Linked DNA regions of Homo sapiens: region 1 is linked to region 2. Evidence: promoter capture Hi-C in human tissues and cell types (Jung and others, 2019). All regions are on one chromosome and are shown on one strand. Each heading gives the region's core, a stretch centred on a gene start or on the middle of the fragment in contact. The rest is flanking DNA. Distances are from core to core; before and after follow the strand shown. Region 1 has its middle 110 kb from the start of ACVR1. Region 2 holds the start of ACVR1C (activin A receptor type 1C).

Region 1 (5,298 bases), core at 438-2,937, 350 kb after region 2:
TCTCCTTTTTCATCTCTGATTTTATTTATTTGTGTCTTTTTTTTTCTGAGCTAATCTGGCTAAAGGCTTGTCCATTTCGTTTAACTTAAAAAAAACCAGCTTTTTGTTTCGTTGATCTTTTGTATTGTTTTCTTCATTGTAATTTTATTTATTTCTGCTCTGATCTTTTTTATTTCTTCTGTTAATTTTGGATTTGGTTTGCTCTTGATTTTCTAGTTCTTTAAGATGCTTTGTTAGGTTGTTTATTTGATGTTTTTCTTTTTTTAATGTGGGCATTTATAGCTATAAACTTTCCTTTTTAGTGCTGCTTTTGCTGTATCCCATAGGTTTTGGTATGTTGTGTTTCCATTAGCATGTGTTGCAAGAAATTTTTAAATTTCCTTTGTAATTATTTCATTGACCTACTGGTCATTCAGAAGCATATTGTTTAATTTCCACGTTGATCTTGTTTGGCTGTGTCCCCACCCAAATCTCATCTTGAATTCCCACATGTTGTGGGAGGGACCCCATGGGAAGTAATTGAATCATGGGGGCAGGTCTTTCTTGTGCTGTTCTCATGATAGTGAATAAGTATCATGAGATCTGATGGTTTTATAAGGGGGAGTTTCCCTGCACAAGCTTTCTCTGTTTGCCTGCTGCCATCCGTGTAAGATGGGACTTGCTCCTCCTTGCCTTCCATGATGATTGTGAAGCCTCCCAATCCACGTGGAACTGTAAGTCCAATAAATCTCTTTCTTTTGTAAATTGGCCAGTCTTGGGTATGTCTTTATCAGCAGCATGAAAACGAACTAACACATTAAATTGGTACCAGTAGAGTAAGGTGCTGCTGAAATGATACCCAAAAATGGGGAAGCAACTTTGGAACTGGGTAACAGACAGAGGTTGGAAAAATTTGGAGGGCTCAGAAGAAAACAGGAAAATGTGGAAAAGTTTGGAACTCCCTAGAGACTTGTTGAATGGCTTTGTCCAAAATTCAGATAATGATATGAACAATGAAATCTAGGCTGAGGTGGTCTTAGATGGAGATGAGAAACTTGTTTGGAACTGGAGCAAAGGTGACTCTTGTTATGTTTTAGCAAAGAGACTGGTGGCATTTTGCCCCTGCCCTAGAGATTTGTGGATCTTTGAACTTGAGAGAGATGATTTAAGGTATCTGGCAGAAGAAATTTCTAAGCAGCAAAGCATTCAAGAGGTGACTTGGGTGCTGTCAAAGGCATTCAGTTTTAAATGGGAAACAGAGCATAAAAGTTCAGAAAATTTGCAGCCTGACAATGCAATAGAAAAGAAAAACTCATTTTCTAAGGAGAAATTCAAGATGCCTGCAGAAATTTGCGTAAGTAACAAGGATCCCAATGTTAATCCCCAAGACAATGGGGAAAATGTCTCCAGGGCATCTCAGAGACTTTTGCAGCAGCCCCTTCCATTACAGGCCTGGAGGCCTAGGAGGAAGAAATGGTTTTGTGGGCCAAGCCCAGGGTCCCATGCTGTGTGCGGTCTAGGGACTTGGTGCCCTGCATCCGAGCCACTCCAGCCATGGCTGAAATAGAGATTGGGCCGTGGTTTCAGAGGGTGCAAGCCTCAAGCCTTGGCAGCTTCCACATGGTATTGAGTCTATGAGTGCACAGAAGTCAAGAATTGGGTTTTGGGAACCTCCATCTAGGTTTCAGAGGAAACCTAGAAGAAGTTTGCTGAAGGGGTGAAGAAGTTTGCTGAAGGGGTGAGGCCCTCATGGAGAACCTCTGCTAGGGCAGTGCAGAAGGGAAATGTGGGCTCAGAGCTCCCACACAGAGTCCCTACCTGGGCACCACCTAGTGGAACTGTGAGAAAAGGGCCACCATCCTCCAGACTCCAGAATGGTAGATCCACTGACAGCTTGCACCATATACCTGGAAAACCCACAGACAATCAACACCAGCCCATGAAAGCAGCTGGGAGAGATGCTGTACCCTGCAAAGCCACAGGAGCAGAGCTGCCCAAGACCATGGAAACCCACCTCTTGCATCAGCATGACCTGGATGAGAGACATGGATTCAAAGGAGATCATTTTGAAACTTTAAGATTTGACTGCCCTGCTGGATTTCAGACTTGCATGGGGCCTGTAGCCCCTTAGTGTTGGCCAATTTCTTCCATTTGGAATAGGTGTATTTACCCAATGCCTGTACCCTACTGTATCTAGGAAGTAACTAGCTTGTTTTGATTTTACAGGCTCATAGGTGGAAGACCTTGCCTTGTCTCAGATGAGGCTTTAGACTATGGACTTTTGAGTTAATGCTGAAATGAGTTAAGACTTTGGGGGACTATAGGGAAGGCATGATTGGTTTTGAAATGTGAGGACATGAGATTTGGGAGGGGCTGGGGTGGAATGATATGGTTTGGCTGTGCTGCCACCCAAATCTTACCTTGAATTCCCATGTGTTGTGAGAGGGACCCCATGGGAGGTAATTGAATCATGGGGCAGTTATTTCCCATGCTGTTCTCATGATAGTGAATAAGTCTCATGAGATCCGATGGTTTTATAAGGGGGAGTTTCTGTACACAACTTCTCTCTTTTTGCCTGCTGCCATCCATGTAAGACATGACTTGCTCCTCCTTGCCCTCCACTATGATTGCAAGGCCTCCCTAGCCATGTGGAACTGTAAGTCCATTAAACCCTTTTCTTTGTTTTTTTTTTTGAGATGGAGTCTAGCTCTGTCACCAGGCTGGAGTGCAGTGGCATGATCTCAGCTCACTGCAACTTCCGCCTCCTGGGTTCAAGAGATTCTCCTTTCTCAGCCTCCCGAGTAGCTGGGATTACAGGCACGCGCTGCCACACCCAACTAATTTTTGTATTTTTAGTAGAGACAGAGTTTCACCATGTTGACCAGGATGGTCTTGATCTCCTGAACTTGTGAACCGCCCACCTTGGCCTCCCAAAGTGCTGGGATTACAGGCATGAGCCACTGTGCCTGGCCCATTAAATTTCTTTCTTTTGTAAATCGACCAGTCTTGGGTCTGTCTTTATCAGCAGCATGAAAATGGACTAATGCACATACAAATACTAAACAAGTATTTGTATAGTTTCCAAAATTCTTCTTCTTATTATTATTATTATTATTACTTTTGAGATGGAGTCTTGCTCTGTTGCCCAGGCTGGAGTGCAGTGGCGTGATCTCCGCTCACTGCAAGCTCCGCCTCCCGGGTTCTTGCCATTCTACTGCCTCAGCCTCCAGAGTAGCTGGGACTACAGGCGCCCGCCACGACGCCTGGCTAATTTTTTTTATTTTTAGTAGAGACGGGGTTTCACTGTGTTAGCCAGGATGGTCTTGATCTCCTGACCTCGTGATCCACCTGCGTTGGCCTCCCAAAGTGCTGGGATTACAGGCGTGAGCCACCGCGCCCCGCCCTTTTTATTGATTTCTAGTATGATTCTGTTGTGGTCAGAGAGGATGCTTGATATTATTTCAATTATTTTGAATATTTTAAGACTTGTTTTGTGACCTAACATATAGTGACCTAACACATAGTTTATCTCTGAGAATAATCCATGTACTGAGGAAAAGAATGTGTATTCTGCAGCCATTGGATGAAATGTTCTGTAAATGTCTACTAGATCCATTTGGTATATAGTACAATGTTTCTTTGGGCCATGGCCCAATGTTTCTTTGTTGATTTTCTCTCTGGAAGATCTGTTCAGTGCTGAAAGTGGGGTGGTGAAATCTCCAGTTACTATTGTATTGGATTCTCTCTCTCTCTCTAGCTCTGATAATATTTGCTTTATATTTCTGTGTGCTCCAGTGTTGGGTGCACATATGTTTCAAATTATTATATTCTCTTGCTGATTTCATGCCTTTATCATTATATCTTGACCTTCTTTGTCTCTTATAGTTTTTGTCTTGAAATCTATTTTGTCTGATATAAGTATAGCTACTTTTGCTCTTATTTGGTTTCCATTGGCGTGAAATATATTTTTTCCAGCCCTTTATTTGCATTCAATGTTTGTGTTTGTAGGTGAAGTGCATTTCTTGTAGGCAACAGATTAATGGGCCTAGTTTTATTTATTTATTTTTAATCCATTCATTTACTCTATTTCTTTTAATTGGAGAGTTTAATTCATTTACATTCAGTGTTATTATTGATAAGTAAGGACTTATTCCTGCCATTTTGTTATCTGTTTTCAGGTTGTTTTGTGGTCTTCTCTTCCTCCTTTCTTTCTTGTCTTCCTTTTAGTGAAGATTATTTTCTCTGGTGATATGATTTCATTTCTTGCTTTTTATTTTTTGTGTACTTACTGTATGTTTTTCAATTTGAGGTTACCATGAGGCTTGCAAATACTATCTTATAACCCATTATTTTAAACTGATAACAACTTGACACTGTTTGCATAAACAAACAAGCCAAAAGAAAACTAATACACTATGTCTTAACTTCGTCCCCCTGCTTTTTAACTTTTTATTGTTGCTATTTATATCTTACTGTACTATGTCTTAAAACGTTGTAGTTATTATTTTTGATTGGTTCACTGTTTATCTTTCTACTTAAGATAAAAGTAGTTTACACACCACAGTTACAGTGTTATAATAATCTGTGTTTTTCTGTGTACTGACTATCACCAGTGAGTTTTGTACTTTAGATGATTTCTTCTTGCTCATTAACATCCTTTTCTTTCTGAATGAAGTACTCCCTTTAGCATTTCTTGTAGGACAGGTCTGGTGTTGATGAAATCACTTGGCTTTTCTTTGTCTGGGAAAGTCTTTATTTCTCCTTCATGTTTGAAGGGCAATTTTGTGGGATATACTATTCTAGGGTAAGAATTTGTTCTCTTCAGCACTTTAAATATGTCATGCCACTCTCTTCTAGCCTGTAAGGTTTTACACTGAAAAGTCTCCTGTCAGATGTACTAGAGCTTCATTGTACGTTATTTGTTTCTTTTCTCTTGCTGCTTTTAGGATCCTTTCTTCATCTTTGACCTTTGGGAGTTTGATTATTAAATGCCTTGAGGTAGTCTTCTTTGGATTAAATCTGCTTGGTGTTCTATAACTTTCTTATACTTGGATATTGATATCTTTCTAGGTTTGGAAAGTTCTGTTATTATCCCTTTGACTAAATTTTCTATCCCTATCTCTTTCTTTACCTCCTCTTTCAGACCAATAACTCTCAGCTTTTCCCTTTTGAAGCTATTTTCTAGATTCCGTAGGTATGCTTCATTGTTTTTTATTCTTTTTTCTTTTGTCTCTTCTGACTATGTATTTTCAAATAGCCTACCTTCAGCCTCACTAATTCTTTATTCTGCTTGATCAATTCTGTATTAAAAGACTCTGA
Region 2 (5,878 bases), core at 3,226-5,725:
AGTGGGTCTTGGCTACTGCCTGAAAGCATTTCCCCAAAAGAGAAACATGAAAGTGTATTCAAAAGGAAACTACTCCAAAATCACATCTGAAAATAACCACTTCCAAAATACAGCGAACTTGGGAAAAACCAACTGCTTTCATGCAACAATCAAGGGAATCAAGAGTTATTCTTGTTTTTTTCACCCATATTTTCATGTCTAGATACTCATGTAGGATTGGAGAAAACTAGGTATCCTTTCAGGTTCACACAGAAGAGAGATATCCTGTGCAAAGAGTTGGGAGTGACACATTGGGAGATGCACATGAAGACAGTAACGGAGCTAGAACAGGCGAGGGTTTTAGAGCTGAGGACTAGAAAATAGGTCTTCACTTCTCTTTTTAATAAAAGAGCCAGAAATACATGCATCAGGAATGGTTTATCTCACAACAGGACTTCTTTTATGTTGGTTTGCAAGATAAAAGTACAGAACACCCAGTTAAATTGGAATTAAACAGCAATTAATTTTTAATATACTTGTGTTCCATGTCATACTTGTGACACACTTATACTAAAGAGGTATTCATTGTTTATCTCAAATTCAATCTAACAAGGTATTCTCTGCCTTATTTGCTAAGTCTGTGGCTCTATTTAATGCGTCTTTGAAAAGTTATCAGTAAATGCCCTTGGCTCTCAATTTTTTATCATCAGTCCATATTTATCCCCTGAACTTCAGACCCAGAAAACCAATTGCTTACTTAACATCTCCATTTCAGCATCTGAGAGGCATTTTGAACTCAACATATTCAAAACTGAGCTCCTGTGATCTGTCAGCACCAACCCTTCTCTCCCCAGACCAGCTTTTCCTGCAGTCTGCCCCACCCCAATTAAGGGTCCATTCTTCCATTGCTTGGGTCAAAAATGTAGCATCATCCTTAGCTACTCACTTTCACACCTCAAAGTCCTTTATTTTTTGTATGAGTTTAGCAATTCAGAGGAAATCTCTAAGCATAGTTTCTCCTGGGCCAGAGATGTCTTCCTTGGAACCAGGGAGCCTCTTGCCACATCTGTGTCAATCAACCAATAAATGACTATGCTTAAAGAAGGGCAAAGATGGCAACATCTTTTGCATTTATAAACTCAGTCAGCCCTGAGCTTTCACTTTCACTTCCAGCAACACTGTGGAAAACTCTTAGTGGAAACTGCTAACTATTGTTTGCAGTGGGGGTGAGGGGGTGCAGAGGGGTGCAGGGGGGTGGGGGGAAGAATTTCATTACTTGAAACCCCCACTCTCACCCTGGTTATTAAGGAAATATTTATTCCATTTTTGGAGTAACAACATAGGGCTTTCTGGACTCTTAATAATCCTTTCTGGACCAGAGGACAAAGGAGTTTCAAGAAATTAGAAGAGAATGCACAATATGTAAATCTATGTAACATCCAAATCACAGCTTCAAAGTAGAGAACTCCAGGACATTTTCTGCCACTTCTTTTTTGGGTACACATGGTGAATATTGTGAAGCCATGTCAGGTCTCTCTTATCAAACATCAAGGCATCCAGAACCTACATAACCAGAGCAACTCAGAGGAGCCTGAGTTTTTCGTTGCTCTTGTTTTTAGAGACGGTGCCTCACTGTGTCACCCAGGCTGGAGTGCAGTGGTGTGATCATGGCTCACTGCAATCTTGAACTCCTGGTCTCAAGCAATTCTGTCTCAGCCTCCCAAGTAGCTAGGACTACAGGTGTGTGCCACCAGAACTGGCTAATTGTTTTTAAATTTTTTGTAGAGATGGTGTCTCACTATGTTGCCTGAGCTGGTCTTGAACTTGCTGGCCTCAAGCAATCCTCACACCTCGGCCTCCCAAAGTACTGGGATTAGAGGCGTGAGCCACTGCACCCAGCCAGCCTGATTTTTTTAATTCCAGTCCAGACCAATAAACAGTTTTTCTAAGTCTCTACCAGCTGTTATCTTCTGAGATTCTCAAAAAGGAGCAATGGACACCCCTAAGGTGACAACAATGTGGGGAATGAGCAGCCAAAGTAAAAAAGGTTTACTGGTTTATCATGTGTTCAGATATTTAAAGTCGTAGGCCTGCTCTGCAGATCCAGATGAAAGGTGGTGCCTTCTGTCACACAGTTTCACTGACTATGTCATTACATCAAGAACAACTTCTCATATAACATTCCAACAACAGCAAGTACATGTCATAAATGGCCAATATGATTAACAGTATAATTTGTAAAAGTGACCAGGTAAAAATACAGTTGGCTAACCATGTCATAAAACCAATTGAAAAAGTGAAAAGCAAAACAAAACTACCTTGAATCTTTCTACTAAATAGCCAGAGTTTTATATAAAGTTAAGAATAAATACTATAAGTAGCAATATACATTGTTAACGTGGGACACAGAGGGGTAAAAACTTCTTAAGGAGATTTGAAAATGATTGCACTTGACATAGAAAAGTTTTTCATAAAAGTTCAGCTTCAATAAATACATCTCTACTATATTATTCCATATCATGCATTTTTCTTAGACTTCAAATTTTAAGTGAGCGACTTTGAATGGATTATCTTTTTTTTATTTTTTGCATATTTCAATGTCAAAAGTTTCCATGCCTTTTCAAGAACATGAGGCATGTTGCTATGCTCAAGGTCTCTGAAATTTTCTAAAGATTCTGGGTATACAACAAAATATACCCTTGAAGCTACATTTTAAAAAAATTGAATCTGTTTTGTAGAAATGTGTGCAGCCAAGTTATCAGCTCCTCCAAATAAAAAGAGTTGTACAGACAGCCTCCAGAGGCAGTTTCACCCCATCAAAACTGTGATACCTTGAAGACTTTTTTTTGTAAACTCTATTAAATTGTCAAGAGCACTTTCAGTATCCCAAGTTAGCAGAGTTTTCACCCATTTTTTAAAGACTTTCCCATAGTTGGTTTTCTCCCACTTATAAATTTATTAACTCTAAATGCAAATATTTCACTTTATCCCATCATCTTTCCGACAGTCTTGGGCTGTTTTCCTAAAAGATAACTGGAATGTTTTAATCCTCAGATTTTGTCAATTAATCCTTTTCAATAATCAAATTTATATTTGAATATTGTATTTAGTGATTCTCTCAGGCCATCTGAAACACTGAAATCTGTACATGACAGCAATCATATCATTCAAATCATTCTCTTGCACATGTCACTAAGAGGAAAACGACCCACCATGAATATAGCTATTAATGTCAAACAGATTGTCATCTGGGAAAACAAAATGCATCAAAATCAGCTTCGGACAAAACACAGCTCTATGGGAAAACACCAGATTTTTATGTGCAAATGTCTTCAATGTCTGATAGAAATTTTTAAAGAATGAGTTAGCAAAGAATCTGCTCCTCCTCTGCATAATCCAGGACAATGTAATGAAAATAGTTTTCGAGGTAAAGGGCTTTTAGTCACAGCATATTATGATTTTACCAAAGATGCATTTGCCCCACTTTCTAGTAAACATTATAAAGAAACGTCTGGCTTCTAGATTGGGTAGAGGGCTCTATTTAGCCTATCAAGGCACAGACCTGTTATAAACTCTGGGGCGCTTGCCAGAATTTTTTTCCCCAGGAACTCTGAGTAAAGATCGTACCTCGAAAGCAATGTGCGTTGCAAACCACACAGATTTAAGCTCCCACTCTCGCCTCCATAGCTTGGCATCTGCGGCTTTTGGGGTATTCCCCGCCTCCTAAAACTCAGACTAAATCACCACCTCCCACCACCACCATGCCACCATCCTTGAGCAGCTCTCAGGGGCTTAGCACAGAGCGCGTCCGACGCATACCTGCAGCCCTCCAGGTCCCTGCAGGGTGAACCCAGCTCCCAGCCATGCGCGCACCCACAAACGCTCTCCTATTTTCTCCGCTGCAAACTGCCCACAAATTAGTCACCCACCTCACCCCTACTACTTATTCCCCCACGTCCCTGCTGCCTTTTCCCTCTTCCGGGCGGCTTCGTCCCCAACACACCTGTCTACCCCTACGGCTGCCAGACGTCAGGTGCCCACGCTGCACCCTATCCCGCGCCCCCTCAATCCGACTGGCGCTTCCCTGTCCGCCCCGAAGGTCAGTTTGCTCGGAGCACCCCCTGTCCCCCACCCCCGTGCTCACCCGCAGACCTCCTCCCAGCTCCCACCCTCGCGGGCGTCGGGAGAGAAACCAGCACCGTACCTGGCGAGAGCTCGGCGGCCGCTGCGAGCAGCAGGAGAGCCTGGCGGAGCGCTGAGCAGAGCGCCCGGGTCATCGCCACCAGGCGGCCGCGCCGGGGCTGCGAGGCCCCAGAGCAGAGCGAGGCAGCCGGGGCAGCACGGCCCGCTTTGAAGTTCCCGGGCCGCGGGAGGGGAGCGCGGCACCGACACCCTTTTGAAGTGCGCGGTTGGCTCTAGTCAGTGTGGGCGCCCCCCTCCCCGGCCGCCCCCATCCCACGCCCCCTGCGGCTGGCGGTGCGCGGCGCTCCTGCCACTGGCCCCGCAGCCGGGCGGGGAGCGGGTGGTGGGGCGGGCGGCAGAGCCCGCCCCTGCCGCGCCTCCGCCCCCTGCGCCCTCTCGCAGCCGCCCGGGCCTGCTGCTGCAGGGCAGGCAGGCAAAGGCGGCCCTGTGCCCGGCAGTGAGATCGCCCAGAGCTGGGGCGAAGAAAGAGGGGGCGTGGGGAAGCAGTGCGGAGCCTCCGGGACTAGATACTCAGGAATGGGGCTTCTCACGGGAGGAAAAGCCCCACTGAGACTTTAGGGAAACTTCAACTACGCGGCGATTGCGCCCAGGTGATCCGCTCTATAACCTCCCGCAGAAGAGCCAGCCTCCTAGCTCTCCTGACGTTTGTTGTCCAGGGTCCTTAAGTCCAACCAGGTTGCGCTGTGAGAGCCCCGCGGGCTTCCTACTGGCTTGTCCCACCCCTGCGTCCTGGCCATTTGTGCCTCTGGGGAAGGGCGCCCTCTCTGTTCATCCCTGGAAATGACCAGTTGTCCGACTGCCTTCTGGACCTATAAGCTTTGGTTTAACAAACTTCATCTCTTCTTGGGTGCCTTTTGGGAACCCTTCCCTCTATGAATGGCGACCAAAGCTGGACCACCTGCGCCAGGTGATGTGGCCATCTACAATGTGTGACCCACGTCTGGTGGTAAAAGACCTCACCTATGGAAGATAATTTCGGCAGCTACAACTTCAGCAATTGAAGAACTAAGGGAACATACACACACACACACACACACACACACACACACACACACACACACGGATTAAGGGAAGGGGAAGAATTGTTTAAAGTAGTATATGAAAAACTTGTTTGAGTATTGTTTAATCCCTAGAGGCTAACTGTCAAACGGGTGCCTGAAAATATAAGGCCTGGATTGTGCCTGAAAATATAAGGACAACGGCAACATTACCAATTTATAGAAATTAAATTCAATTCACCTATGGAGCCTGAACATTAAAGTGAATGGGATTATTTCAATCTGAACAACGCGAAAAAGCAAGAATACAATACTGGTGTTATTACTACTGTTGGGGGTTCCTTGAAAAGTGATAGCGTCATAAAAATTGCTTTAGAGTAAAACATTTCTTGCTTCTTCACCTAGCTCAGGACTAAATTATATGCTAGGTGTTCTAAGTTCTATGAAAGACCTATGGTGAAATGTTGTATGTAATTGACTTTATTATCAAAGGATCACAGTATGGGAGATGAGATGGTTGTTGGACTTTGAGATGTGGGTGGCATCCTGAGGATCTTTTCTGCCACCATCTTATATTCCTAAGCACAAAAAAACTTTGTTCTTGTTTTATCCTGGATCCAAACAAACAAAAAACTGGAGATGTGGGACAAATCTGAGCCCTTTCAGACACCCACAAAACAGATGCTTTTTTAAAAAGG

What was found. The method cuts DNA at HindIII sites, captures the fragments that hold promoters and counts their contacts. A contact is called where the count stands out against the background at its distance.
Region 1: a fragment that was not itself captured here is called in contact with the fragment with the promoter of ACVR1C in region 2 in 2 of the 25 tissues and cell types used here (hippocampus and spleen).

Annotation. Positions count from the first base shown.
Region 1 is chr2:157,978,753-157,984,050 of GRCh38, forward strand. No RefSeq gene overlaps it. Among named protein-coding and RNA genes, the nearest start is that of ACVR1, 110 kb to the left of the region's middle. The HindIII fragment of the contact is 5,954 bases long and covers 1-4,664 here.
Region 2 is chr2:157,624,389-157,630,266 of GRCh38, forward strand. It overlaps ACVR1C (activin A receptor type 1C), which reads right to left and starts at 4,476. Exons shown (of 9, transcript NM_145259.3): 1 at 4,184-4,476. The coding sequence starts at 4,256. RefSeq lists a silencer at 4,191-4,420. The HindIII fragment of the contact is 14,203 bases long and covers 1-5,766 here.